Regions from separate parts of the Homo sapiens genome. Here all the other regions are linked to region 1. Evidence: promoter capture Hi-C in human tissues and cell types (Jung and others, 2019). All regions are on one chromosome and are shown on one strand. Each heading gives the region's core, a stretch centred on a gene start or on the middle of the fragment in contact. The rest is flanking DNA. Distances are from core to core; before and after follow the strand shown. Region 1 holds the start of NAGS (N-acetylglutamate synthase). Region 2 overlaps HDAC5 (histone deacetylase 5). Region 3 has its middle 6.9 kb from the start of LINC01976.

Region 1 (3,959 bases), core at 1,128-3,627:
AAACGGGTAAGCGCACTCACTCGGCCTCCCCTGGAGACTCCTCAGGAGGGAAGTAGCCCAAGCCCTGCTCCCCAAAAAGGCAGAGCCCCAGGTGTCAGGACTCCAGCATGGGGAGACAAAACCACGTGCAAGAAAGCAGGGAGGAGCAGGGGTAGGAACTGAGGGTGCTTAGGGTCTGGCCATGCCACTGACGAGCTGTGTGACCTTGGCCAGGTCACCTCCCCTCTACAACAACAGAGGGTCCTCTTTCCCCCTCTACAACAACAGAGGGTCTGACTGGATCAGAGTGTACCCAAGGGCAGGATGTGTGCAGCTGACAGTGCCCAGCACATGGACACAGTATGAAGTAACATTGAATCATATCCTGTGAATGTTTTCAAGCCTTTCAACTCCTTTCCAAAACTTGCTTAACAGCATGGATCTGGAGCAGAACTGCTTCCTAGACCAGCTCCACGGCTTGTGAGCTGAGTGACCCTGATCCTCACATATTTCTGTACCTCCATTTTCTCATCTGTAAAATGGGAATAATGATAATAGCTATCCTGGAGTCACTGAGAGGATTAAATGAATGACTATTTGTGAAGTCCTTTGCATAGTGCCTAGCATTCGACATGTGTTAGCTATTCCTCTACCACACAGAAGGCTTTGCTTGGTGCTAGGGTATCTTTAACACATGGCACCTGCTAACCTTCCATGTTACCAAGAAAGCAGGCAAGCTATGCAGATGGAATATAATGGAATGTAATAACATTGTTTTCCTCTCACTTGATTCTTTTTTAATTTTGATTTTAATTTTAATTTTAATTTTTTTGAGACAGGGTCTCATTCTGTCGCCCAGACGGGAGTGCAGTGGCACAGTCTCAGTTCACCGCAATCTCCTCCTCCCAGGCTCAAGTGATTCTCTGGCCTCCTGAGTAGCTGGGATTACAGAAACATGCCACTACTGCCTGGCTAATTTTTGTATTTTTAGTAGAGATGGGGTTTCACCATGTTGGCCAGGCTGGTCTTGAACTTCTGACCTCAAATGACCCACCCGCCTCCTCACTTGATTCTTAAGGCTTATGGCAAGTGATACTGGCCTAGTTACAGACCTAACATGGATAAACTTTAAGTTTAAAAAGGTTAAAGAGGGCCGGGCGTGGTGGCTCACGCCTGTAATCCCAGCACTTTGGGAGGCTGAGGCAGGTGGATCACGAGGTCAGGAGTTTGAGACAATCCTGGCCAACATGGTGAAACCCTGTCTCTACTAAAAATACAAAGATTAGCCGGGTGTGATGGTGTCTGCCTGTAATCCCTGCTACTCAGGAGGCTGAGGCAGGAGAATCGCTTGAACCCAGAAGGCGGGGATTACAGTGAGCCGAGATCGCAACACTGCACTCCAGCCTGGGCAATAGGGTGGGACTCCATCTCAAACAAACAAACAAACAAAAAAAAAAAAAAAAAAAAGGGTTACAGAGGTCGAGTGAAGTAGCTCACACCTGTAATCCCAGCACCTTGGGAGGCAGAAGTGGGAGGACTGCTTGAGCTCAGGAGTTCACGAACAGTCTGGGCAACATGGTGAACACCCGTCTTCAAAAAAAATAATTTTTTTTTAAATCAGCTGGGCATGGTGGTGTGCATTTGTGGTCCCAGCTACTAGGGAGACTGAGGCAGGAGGATCATTTGAACCTGGGAGGTGGAGGCTGCAGTGAGCTATGATTGCACCACTGTACTGCAGCCTGGGCAACAACAGAGTGAGACCCTATCTCAAAAACCAAAATAAAAAACTCTATTTTATTTTATTTTTACCAGATGTGATATTCGATAAAGAAAAGCATTAACACTAAAGTATTATAAGTTTTGAGGGGTGTTTTGAGGATATCACAGAATTCCTCAAGCTGGTACCCAGTGACTGGAGTTTGGCAAACCCTGGTAACCTCATGGTCATTCATTAGGATCTTTTTTGAGCTCAGGCAACAGGACAGACAAGGCCAGCACCACCCGCCCCCGCCCTCCCACTGCCCCCCTTCTTCTACTCTTTCCAGCGCCCTCCTTCCAGCCCCCTGCCCAGCCCTGTGCTCAAAGCCACCTACAGTCCCTTCTTCTCTGGTCAGAATGCCAATCATCCAAGGCCCTGCAGACTCCCAAAGCCGCCCCTGGAACCTACCTTGGCAGCAGATTAAAGACAACCCGCCACATTTAGTCTCGGCCCCATGACCGATAGTGGGTTCAGTTCCTCCAGGGGCGGGGGAGCCTAGTGGCCCCGCCCCCTGACTCATGGCCTGACCCTCCTCAAACGCACCCAGAGGAGACTCCTGGTCCCCTGTCCGGACCCCGCCCCGACCAGGTCCAGCCCCGCCCAACGGCAAGTTAAGAGCCCCCCAGTGCCAGACGCTCCAGACAGACTGCCACTCTTGGGGGGCAAGAGTTGGTTGTCGTCATGGCGACGGCGCTGATGGCTGTGGTTCTGCGGGCAGCTGCTGTAGCCCCGAGGCTGAGAGGCCGGGGAGGCACTGGGGGCGCCCGAAGGCTGAGCTGTGGCGCGCGGCGGCGGGCGGCGAGGGGCACCAGCCCGGGGCGCCGGCTCAGCACCGCCTGGTCGCAGCCCCAGCCCCCGCCCGAGGAGTACGCGGGCGCGGACGACGTCTCCCAGTCGCCCGTCGCCGAGGAGCCGTCGTGGGTGCCGAGTCCCAGGCCCCCGGTGCCCCACGAGTCCCCAGAGCCTCCTTCGGGCCGCTCGCTGGTGCAGCGGGACATCCAGGCCTTCCTGAACCAGTGCGGGGCCAGCCCTGGGGAGGCGCGCCACTGGCTCACGCAGTTCCAGACCTGCCATCACTCCGCGGACAAGCCCTTCGCCGTCATCGAGGTGAGCGGAGCCCGGCGTGGGCCGTGACGCAGCGAGGGGATGGGGTTGTGCGGCCACCTGTCCTCAGGCATGGCAGGATACGCTGCGGGCTCTGCGCAGCGGAAGCGGGAAGGAGCCCGGCAGGGCCCAGACCAGCGCCGCCGGGAATGGGAGAGGCCGTAAGCTCCTCCGGAAGCCTCCCGCCCAGCCCGAGTGAGGATCCTGGGGGACCCCACCCGCCAGGTGTGATGCTCTGAAGAAGGCCCCCAACATGGGCGCAGTTAGGGGTTCAGAAGGACCTGGACAGGAGCCGCTTGCACTGCCCCTCCCCCAAAGATGTCCCGGAGTCCAAGGTCGGAGGGAGGAGGGCGGGAGGTACCCCAGCGTGAGACAAGGGAGTGGCAAGACCCAACGGGGCAAAGGGCGGAGCAGGTGGGCACTGGTGGCCAGAACTGGGTCCTGACAGCTTCTGGAAGGGTAGGGTCACCGAGACGGCCCTGCAGGCCAGGCTGTGGGAGCCAGCGGCTCAGGTCCGTGTCACGCTCCTTGAAAGCCCACTCCTCCGCAGGTGGACGAGGAGGTGCTCAAGTGCCAGCAGGGCGTATCCAGTCTGGCCTTTGCCCTGGCCTTCTTGCAGCGCATGGACATGAAGCCGCTGGTGGTCCTGGGGCTGCCGGCCCCTACGGCTCCCTCGGGCTGTCTTTCCTTCTGGGAGGCCAAGGCGCAGCTGGCCAAGAGCTGCAAGGTGCTGGTAGACGCGCTTCGACACAACGCCGCCGCTGCTGTGCCATTTTTTGGCGGCGGGTCTGTGCTACGCGCTGCCGAGCCGGCTCCCCATGCCAGGTGAGTGCCCGCCCTGCCCGCCCAGGCGTCCTCAGAGCGTGCTACTCTGCCCGCCCTGCCCCGTCCGGCAGGCCTGGAGGGGGCCCTCTCGAGCACCACGTCTGGCCCACAGCTACGGCGGCATCGTCTCGGTGGAGACAGACCTGCTGCAGTGGTGCCTGGAGTCGGGCAGCATCCCCATCCTGTGCCCCATCGGGGAGACGGCCGCGCGCCGCTCCGTGCTTCTCGACTCCCTGGAGGTGACCGCGTCGCTGGCCAAGGCGCTGCGGCCCACCAAAATCATCTTCCTCAA
Region 2 (3,959 bases), core at 687-3,186, 110 kb after region 1:
GCGTATTGTCTGGGCATCAGCTCCACCCAGTACAAGACAAAGGGGAATCCAGGGCCCACATAAGGGAGGCAGAGAATTCCCCACCTCTGTGTCCTTGAGAATCCCATACTAGAGTTCAAACTCCCAGGCTCCCCAAGCCAGAACTAAGCTGGGATGATGGTGGTGCCCACTGTGCACTGGGGAGCTGTGGTAGGGTGGCCAGGCAGAGACCCCATCCATCAAGGAAGACCTCTGATCGCTAAGAGCAGATGCTGAGATCCGCCCCACTCTTTAAGCAAGAACAGCAGACTGCCCCTGTCCTTCGGTAGGCTAAGGCTCTGTCTTACCCGCTGGGGTGACTCACTAAAGCTGTCTCTATTCACCCAGAGGTCCAGGCCCCAGAATAGAGCCCAGGAATCCTGCCAGCAATTCTGGACTCCAGCCCTCCCCATGCGACATTCATTCATCCATGTGCCAGGCACTGTGCTAGGTGCTGGGCAATGGCAACAACCAAGACAGCCCAGAGAGCAAAGGCTATCCCTAAAATAGGGTTCTAAAGATGCTGCTGGAGGTGGCAGGCAGGCACCACCCTCGAAAGACCCTTGCCCCAACCCCTTGGGCTTGGGAGACCTGCGCAACTCACACCATCCAAAGAAGCTTCCCTGGACACCTGCTTTTTCAGCCATAGGATCTTGCATCCTGTCTGGAGACCGATCAAGAGATGGGGAGAGGGGGTGGGGAGGGAAACACCAGGCTGCCTGGGCCCTCATGGCCGTGTTTATCCGGGGTGGATTTTTTTTAACCCAAAGGTTAAAGTGTTTCTATTTGAAACATCTATTTACATTCCAGAGTCCAAAAAAAAAACAAAAAAAAAACAAAAAAAAAACAAGGCTGCCGAGCTCCAGGCCTATATCTGTCCCTAGCCGCGTCACAGACACAGCATCAGAGCTGCGCAGGGGGAACATTCTTAGCCCTCTCCCCGAGCCGCTGAGGTGACTCACGCCTCCCTCCTGCCAGCATGGACCAAGCCACCACTCTGAAGGCCAGCCAGCGTTGGGGGTGGAGTGGGGAGACAGGGATCTGGACAGAGGGGCTGCCTGGGAGTCCATGCAGGGGCAGCCAGGCTTAGGGAGGAGATGAGAGAGCAGGGTCCCAGCCTGCAAGGTTTCTGGGGTACAATCTGGAAGCAGGTGAATGAACAAGCTGAGGAGGAAACTTCCGGCCAACTGCTGGCTGCTGCTGGTAGCAAGGAACAGAGGCGACAGGGCAGGATGGGTGGACCTGATAAGCCAGATGGCGTGGAGCTGTCCCAAGCAGATGCTCTGGGATTATTCTGCCTTCCAAGAGACCACCTTGAGTCCCAGAGGCTGTGGGCTAGGGGCCAGCAGGCAGGGTCTTTAGCTGGACCTGTGGACTCCAGACCAGGATAAGAACCAGCCCTCTGGGTTTATTCCTCATCCCAGGGACCTGTGTAGGGGGCCCCCAGGCATACGCCCCTACCTCAGGGGACTACGTGGGTATCTTGTAGAGCCGGTTCCCAAGGTTACACCCCCATCCCCACCCCAGCCTACAGGGCTGGCCCCAGGGTAATGCCCCTATCCTCGGGGCCTGCATGGATACCCTGCAGGGCTAGTCTTCAGGGTCATGCTCCTACATGAGAAAACTGCATGGGCATCCCTGCCTGGGCAGATGATAAGCCATGTTCCAAAGATTTTTTGAATCTTCCCAAAACATTCATGCTCTGACACATCCAAGTCCCACTGCAACCTTATCCCTGGGCAGCTCAGAGCCAAATCACAGGCACCTGCAGAGGCACACAGTTCCCACTTTCCAATTTGAAGCTTGGGATGCACACCCACATATCCAGAGGCAAGGACTCCCCATTCACACGCACACACACAGACACCCACACTTGAGTGCCAAGCCACTGCCAGGAGGGGCTGAGCAGGCATGGGTCCAGCAGGCCCCTCCCTGGAGGAAGCATCTTGTGGTGCCGGCCTGGTGGGGAGGCTGTGCCAGGAAGGCTTGATGCTGCCAACAGGTTCCTGGGAGTGAGGGAAGGAGCGGCCCAGCTCTGGGGGACCCCACCCCTAGCCAAGAGCCAAAAAAGTTCCTGCTGAGAAGGTGGCAGGATTAGGGGGTCCCGAAGCCCATCTGAGCCAGAGTAACACCTCTTCATCCTCATGAGATGGGAATCAACCCAGACCTGGGGAGAGGAGCGCCATCGGGAGACAGCTAGGGGCTAAGGCAGCCAAGCCCCTCAATATCCAAGCTGCCAGCCTCTGCCTAACTCCATCATGACTGCACCAAGCCTCCCCAAGTGTCTGATTCTCAAGAGACTCCTGGCTGGGGACTTGCGGAAGTCACTGTACTCGATCCTGTAGCCCCAAGAACCAAGCCAGAGGAGCTGGAGTAACCTTTATTCTTGTGGACACCCAGCTACACCTTCTTCCCTTGCCCAAACTTGGGGAGCGGGCAGCATGGAGGCGGGTCACTGACCCACTTCCTCCCCTCTGACCACAGTGCCAACTAGGCCAGGATCCTCCAGTAACCCCCAGCCCCCAGCAGTGGATGCCGACCCTGCCAGAGACTGAAGGGACTGGAAGAGATGCAGCAGAGTACAGCGGAGGGGCACCGGGGAGCAGCAGGCTCTGGGCAGGGAGGGCAGGGGCCTCTCTGAGCAGGGATCCCCCAGCCCTGTGTATTCTCAACAAAACTCTCAAGACAGATCTATGCAGGACCCTATCTGTGCAAGGCTCAGGGCCAGATGCTCAGCCCAGGGACAAGGATGCCAGATGACAGAGGGCAGGCAGGGACATCAAGGCACTTACCTGTCACAGGGATGCTGTGCAGAGAAGTCCGCGGCAGGATTTCCAAGGATGGTTCCCGACCTGACATCCCATCTGCTGAGAAACAGGATTCTGTCTCATAGATGGTCTGCAGCATCTCCACGAGCCCCTGAGCCTTGGGCACCAGCAGCATGCCAGGGAGGGGGCCGCCAGAGGCGGGGAGCAGACCGAAGGGAAGGTGGTCGGGCAGCCCGCACAGCACAGGTTCCCTCAGGCCACTGCCGACGGGACCCACACTGTAGGGAAGTGCCTCATCCGGCCTGGGCACTCCTGGCGGCAGGAGGGGCAGGGAGGCCCTAGAGCTGCAGGCCCAGCTCTGCTCTAGAGGGGCATCCGACCACCAGCCTCTCCCTGGTTCCTGGGAGCTGGGGTATGGCTGAGCACTTGGGACAGGAAGGGGAGCTCAGCGGGCAGGCGGGCTCTGTGTTCCCTCCCAACCCTGGGTGACAGCTCTGGGCCCGGCTCCCTGCTCCTCCTTCCCGAATGAGCCGCCGCCGGCAGCTGGCAGGAGACTGAAATAGCAGTTGGGGGAGGGCCCTGTCTATAAATAGGTGGAGCATGCTCAGGGAGCTGCGGGCGGGCTGCCAGGAGGCCCCATGGGGGGGGAGGCGGTTCTACCCCAGGAGGAAGCGCCAGGCGAGGGGGATGGGAACAGGGGAGGGCCTGCACTCAGGGCCAAGGCCACAGCGCTGGGTGGCCAGAGGCTGGGCTGGGGAAGGGCGCCGGCCAGGGTACCCATGCATCTGGGAGCGGCTCTGGCTGCTACTCTTGGCAAGCAAGCCAGGGGATGGAGACCAAGAAGCCAGACTCAAGCCTCCGTCTTTCTTCTTGCCTTCCAGAACAGGTAAAGGAATTGGAAGGGTCTAGGAGAGGCTGGCACACAGGCACCTTCCCTGGAGTTCTAATAGCCCCATGGAGGTTTGCTTAACTTCTGCCCTCCCACAGAGTTGAGAGGTGCCTCCCCACCCCTTCAACCAGCAGAGAGACCCCTAAACACCTGCTAAATGGCAGCTCCCTCCCGCTCATTCTGGAGTGTCGCCTCCAGAGGCTGCTCAGCCTCAGCTTCTTTCTAGGGTGTAGGGATACTCCTCCTGGGCAGACAGGTGTCCCCTGGTCCCCTTTCCTCACCCC
Region 3 (3,959 bases), core at 469-2,968, 73 kb before region 1:
CCCAGCTAATTTTTGTGTTTTCAGTAGAGACAGGTTTTCACCATGTTAGCCAGGCTGCTGATCTCGAACTCCTGACCTCAAGTGATCTGCCCGCCTCAGCTTCCCACAATGCTGGGATTACAGGTGTGAGCCATTGCACCAGGCCAGGGATGTTTCTTTCGTTGGGCCTTTGTCCGCCCTGTGGTCAGGTGGTTAGGTAGGATGTTTCTCATGGCCTGAACCCCTGTGAAATGTTTCGCTTTGACCAAGGTCTGCAAAATAGCAAGGAACTTGTAACATGGTGCAGTTTGGCTAACATTCTTGCCTTTTACTTTAATATAAAAGGAAGAGGGGTGTTGTGTTGTTGATTGTCTGGCTACTTCCTTCCGAATAGGGGTGCTGTACTCGGCGTGTGGGTTTTGAAGCAGTGGGCGTTCGACTTCAGAGTTGTTTTCCTTGAGGCGCTGATACCGGCCTTGGCGGAGGAGAATGACGGTATTCATGTGTTTCTGGGTGGTTGCCTGAACAAGGGAGTTCAGCCTTTGGGAGATAAAGCAGGATATGAAGGTGAGTACACATGGGCCAATTGTTAGTATTAGGAGGCAGAAAATTAGGGGTCCTCCAACTGGCTATCCCGGTGCCGAGTGTAGCAGAGATATTTAGTCCTGCTAACGGGAATGAAATGTACAGCCCGCTTGGTGTGTGGGGTGGGGAGAGGAAACAGGCATTACTAAAGGAACCTGAACCTGAATAGTTTGTTAGGCAAAATGTTATTGTTTGGAGATTGAAACACCAGGGTGCATATTCCTGATCAATTGGCCAGTAGGCAGAAATAAGATTTTGCACCACAAAGGAAGAAGATCACAGGTGCATGCCACCACGCCCAGCTAATTTTTATATTTTTTTGTAGAGGTGAGGTTCCCTGGGCCCAAGTGCAGCCTAGGGAATTCTGGCACTCTCCAGATGTCAGAGGTCATAATCAAGGATGACGCCTTTAGTTAGGCAAACCAACTTAGAGCCTCCACTCCATACCATAGGGGAGTCCCAGACAAGAACACAGCTTGGGCTGGGCGTGGTGGCTCACTCCTGTAATCCCAACACTCTGGGAAGCTGAGGTGGGTGGACACTTGAGGTCAGGAGTTCGAGACCAGTCTGGCCAACATGGTGAAACCCCGTGTCTACTAAAAATACAAATATTAGCCAGGCGTGGTGGCCCGTGCCTGTAGTCCCAGCTACTCAGGAGGCTGAGGCAGGAGAATTGCTTGAACCTGAGAGGCGGAGGTTACAGTGAGCAGAGATCATGCCACTGCACTCTAGCCTGGGCAACACAGTGAGGCTCTGTCTCAAAAAAAAGTAGTAAAAATAATAATGTGTTATATATCATATCATATGACATATAATGTAGCTATGATGATACAATAATAATAGCCGTTATTCTTAAAATGGCATATGAGGCAGGTCTTGAAGGATATGCAGCTTCATTGGCCAAAATTTCCATCACTCCCTGCTTGCTCTCTCCTCTGTCAATCAGCTGCTACCAGGGAGGTCCAGTTTCTGAAACACTGGAATCGTGTGAGCAGAAGTCGCCACTCACACCAGCCCTTGGTGTGAGGAGGAGGACATTTGAGGGCAAGGTAGCTGCAGCCCCCAAGCTGCCCTCCACACTGGAAGCCAGTCAAGGCGTGGCCTCCTCAGCTGGAGTTGACATCCAGTTCTGCTCTGGACCTGCAAAGTCTCTGAGGGCTTCCTGCCAGGCTGCAGGGAGGGGTTTGGGTGTAGACCTGGTGGACTGTAAAATTACCCATTTGCCCCAGATTAATGATTAACGGGTCCCTGCCCTCACCCTGTCTGGGAGAGGAGCCCAGGGTCAGGCTAGGCCAAGGGGAGCCCGATAGCATCTGTCTCTGCTCAGAGGTTTCAGAGATATGCTCCATGATGGTTTGACTGCACCTGATGGGTGTGGAATCTACGGGTGATTTCTGAGGCCACCTGGGGCCTGGCCAGGCCGCATACCCTCTGGTGAGGCTTCCAACTTCTGGGGCATACAGAGAGGATGTGGCATCCAGTCAGAAGCCCTGGTTAAGGCAAGTGGCTCCAAACAGGAGAGCTGTCCCTTGGCTCAGAGGAATGTGGGCTTCTCTGACTACTCCTGGCTTGACCACAGGACTTACCCTGGCCAGTGGCACATGAGCAACATGATAAGTGCCACATCTAAGCAGGATGTGGCACTTTAAGAGCTACTGCAGCCGGGCGCGGTAGCTCACACCTGTAATCCCAGCAATTTGGGAGGCCAAGGCAGGCAGATCACAAGGTCAGGAGATTGAGACCATCCTGGCCAACATGGTGAAACCCCATCTCTACTAAAAATACAAAAATTAGCCAGGCGTGGTGGTGGTGCATGCCTGTAGTCCCAGCTACTTGGGAGGCTGAGGGAGGAGAATCGCTTGAACCCGGGAGGCGGAGGTTGCAGCCTGGCGACAGAGCAAGACTACGTTTCAAACAAACAAACAAATAAACAAGCAAACAAACAAAAAAGGAGCCATTGCCTGGTTCTACTTTTGCTTTTCTTTTCTTTTTTTCTTTTTTTTCTTTTTCTTTTTTGAGACAGGGTCTCACTCGGTTGCTTAGGTTGGAGTTCAGTGACGTGATCTCTTCTCACTGCAGCCTCCACCTCCTGAGCTCAAACTATCCTCCTGCCTCAGCCTCCCAAGTAGCTGGGACTACAGGCTTGTGCCACCATGCCTGGCTAATTTTCATACTTTTAGTAGAGATGGGGTTTCGCTATGTCATCTAGGCTGGTCTCAAACTCCTGGACTCAAGCAATCCGCCTGCCTTGGCCTCCCAAAGTGGTGGGATTACAGGTGTGAGCCACCGCACCTCGCCCACCTTTGCTCTTTTACCCTGGCTAGGAGCCCAGGATGTCCCAGAACGGGGTTACTTCTTTTGGGGTGAGCCCTGAAATGATGTATATTCCACCCACACTGGGGGCACCCAAGGAGGCTCCCTTCCCTTCACCTGCCCCTCACCACCATCCCCAAGGCTCACCCGTCTCTGTCCTCTCGCCGTCTCCAGCCTGACCAGGTGGGAGGTCCTGATGCCCTTCCCAGGACTGGGCACTGCGGTGGCCCCAGCACAGGGCAGGGCCCACCTGAAGCAGTGTGACCTGCTGAAGTTGTCCCGGCAGCAGAAGCAGCTCTGCGGGAGGGAGCCCAGCCTGGCTGAGACCCTGTGGGACGCCATGCACCTCGGCCTGGAGTGCCAGTTCCAGTTCCGGCATGAGCGCTGGAACTACAGCTTGGAGGGTAGGAGGGGCCTGCTCAAGTGAGGTGGGGAGGAGGGCTATGGGAGGAGGAGGGCTGGGGGCGCGGGGGAAGAAGGCTTCTGGGAGGAGGAGGAGGCTGGGAGAGGCTGCCTTTTCCTCTCCCCTGGACCCTGTGCCCAGAACACACTGCCCTTGCTACCCTAGCACGGTTCCATATGAGAAGAGTCCCGGGATTAATGAGGGGCAGTTGAAGACCAGGTGTGGCCCAGCCTCAGGTTTCGGGGAGCAGAGGAGCAAGGAAGATCCAAGAGAAGAGGAGACACAAGTCCGGTCCTGGAGGAGCCCACAGATGAGAGGGGGGTCCCCTAGTTACCTTCCTCTGCCTCTTCACACACACATGCGAAACAAGGCACATGAAGACATGAGGACAGGCAGCAGCGGGTTCCAGGACCCATGACATGAGCCAGGCCATGCATTTGTTCACTCCTTTAGCTGTCCCTTTGTTCATCACATCCATTGATCCATCAGTCCCTCCCTCCCTTCCACTCCCATTCTACCTCCCTCCCTTCTTCCTGCCTCCCTCCCACCTCCACCCACCCACTAAGCATCCATGGAGGCCCACAGTAAGCCAGGCACTGTGCTAGATGCTGGAGGTTCAGAGCTGAACAAGACCCCAGCTGCCCTTGGGAAGCATGCAGTCTAGAAGGGAGAACACAGG

Evidence for each region. The method cuts DNA at HindIII sites, captures the fragments that hold promoters and counts their contacts. A contact is called where the count stands out against the background at its distance.
Region 2: a contact is called between a fragment that was not itself captured here and the fragment with the promoter of NAGS in region 1, in 2 of the 25 tissues and cell types used here (lymphoblastoid cells and spleen).
Region 3: a fragment that was not itself captured here is called in contact with the fragment with the promoter of NAGS in region 1 in 2 of the 25 tissues and cell types used here (IMR-90 fibroblasts and dorsolateral prefrontal cortex).

Annotation. Positions count from the first base shown.
Region 1 is chr17:44,002,245-44,006,203 of GRCh38, forward strand. It overlaps NAGS (N-acetylglutamate synthase), which reads left to right and starts at 2,378. Exons shown (of 7, transcript NM_153006.3): 1 at 2,378-2,845; 2 at 3,393-3,667; 3 at 3,780-3,959. The coding sequence starts at 2,420. It also overlaps a transcript of PYY not described here. RefSeq lists an enhancer at 3,301-3,959. The HindIII fragment of the contact is 21,260 bases long and covers 1-3,959 here.
Region 2 is chr17:44,107,919-44,111,877 of GRCh38, forward strand. It overlaps HDAC5 (histone deacetylase 5), which reads right to left. Exons shown (of 27, transcript NM_005474.5): 3 at 2,811-2,882. Among named protein-coding and RNA genes, the nearest start is that of HDAC5, 14 kb to the right of the region's middle. The HindIII fragment of the contact is 4,562 bases long and covers 1-3,959 here.
Region 3 is chr17:43,929,422-43,933,380 of GRCh38, forward strand. It overlaps LOC102724183. Among named protein-coding and RNA genes, the nearest start is that of LINC01976, 6.9 kb to the right of the region's middle. The HindIII fragment of the contact is 7,048 bases long and covers 1-3,959 here.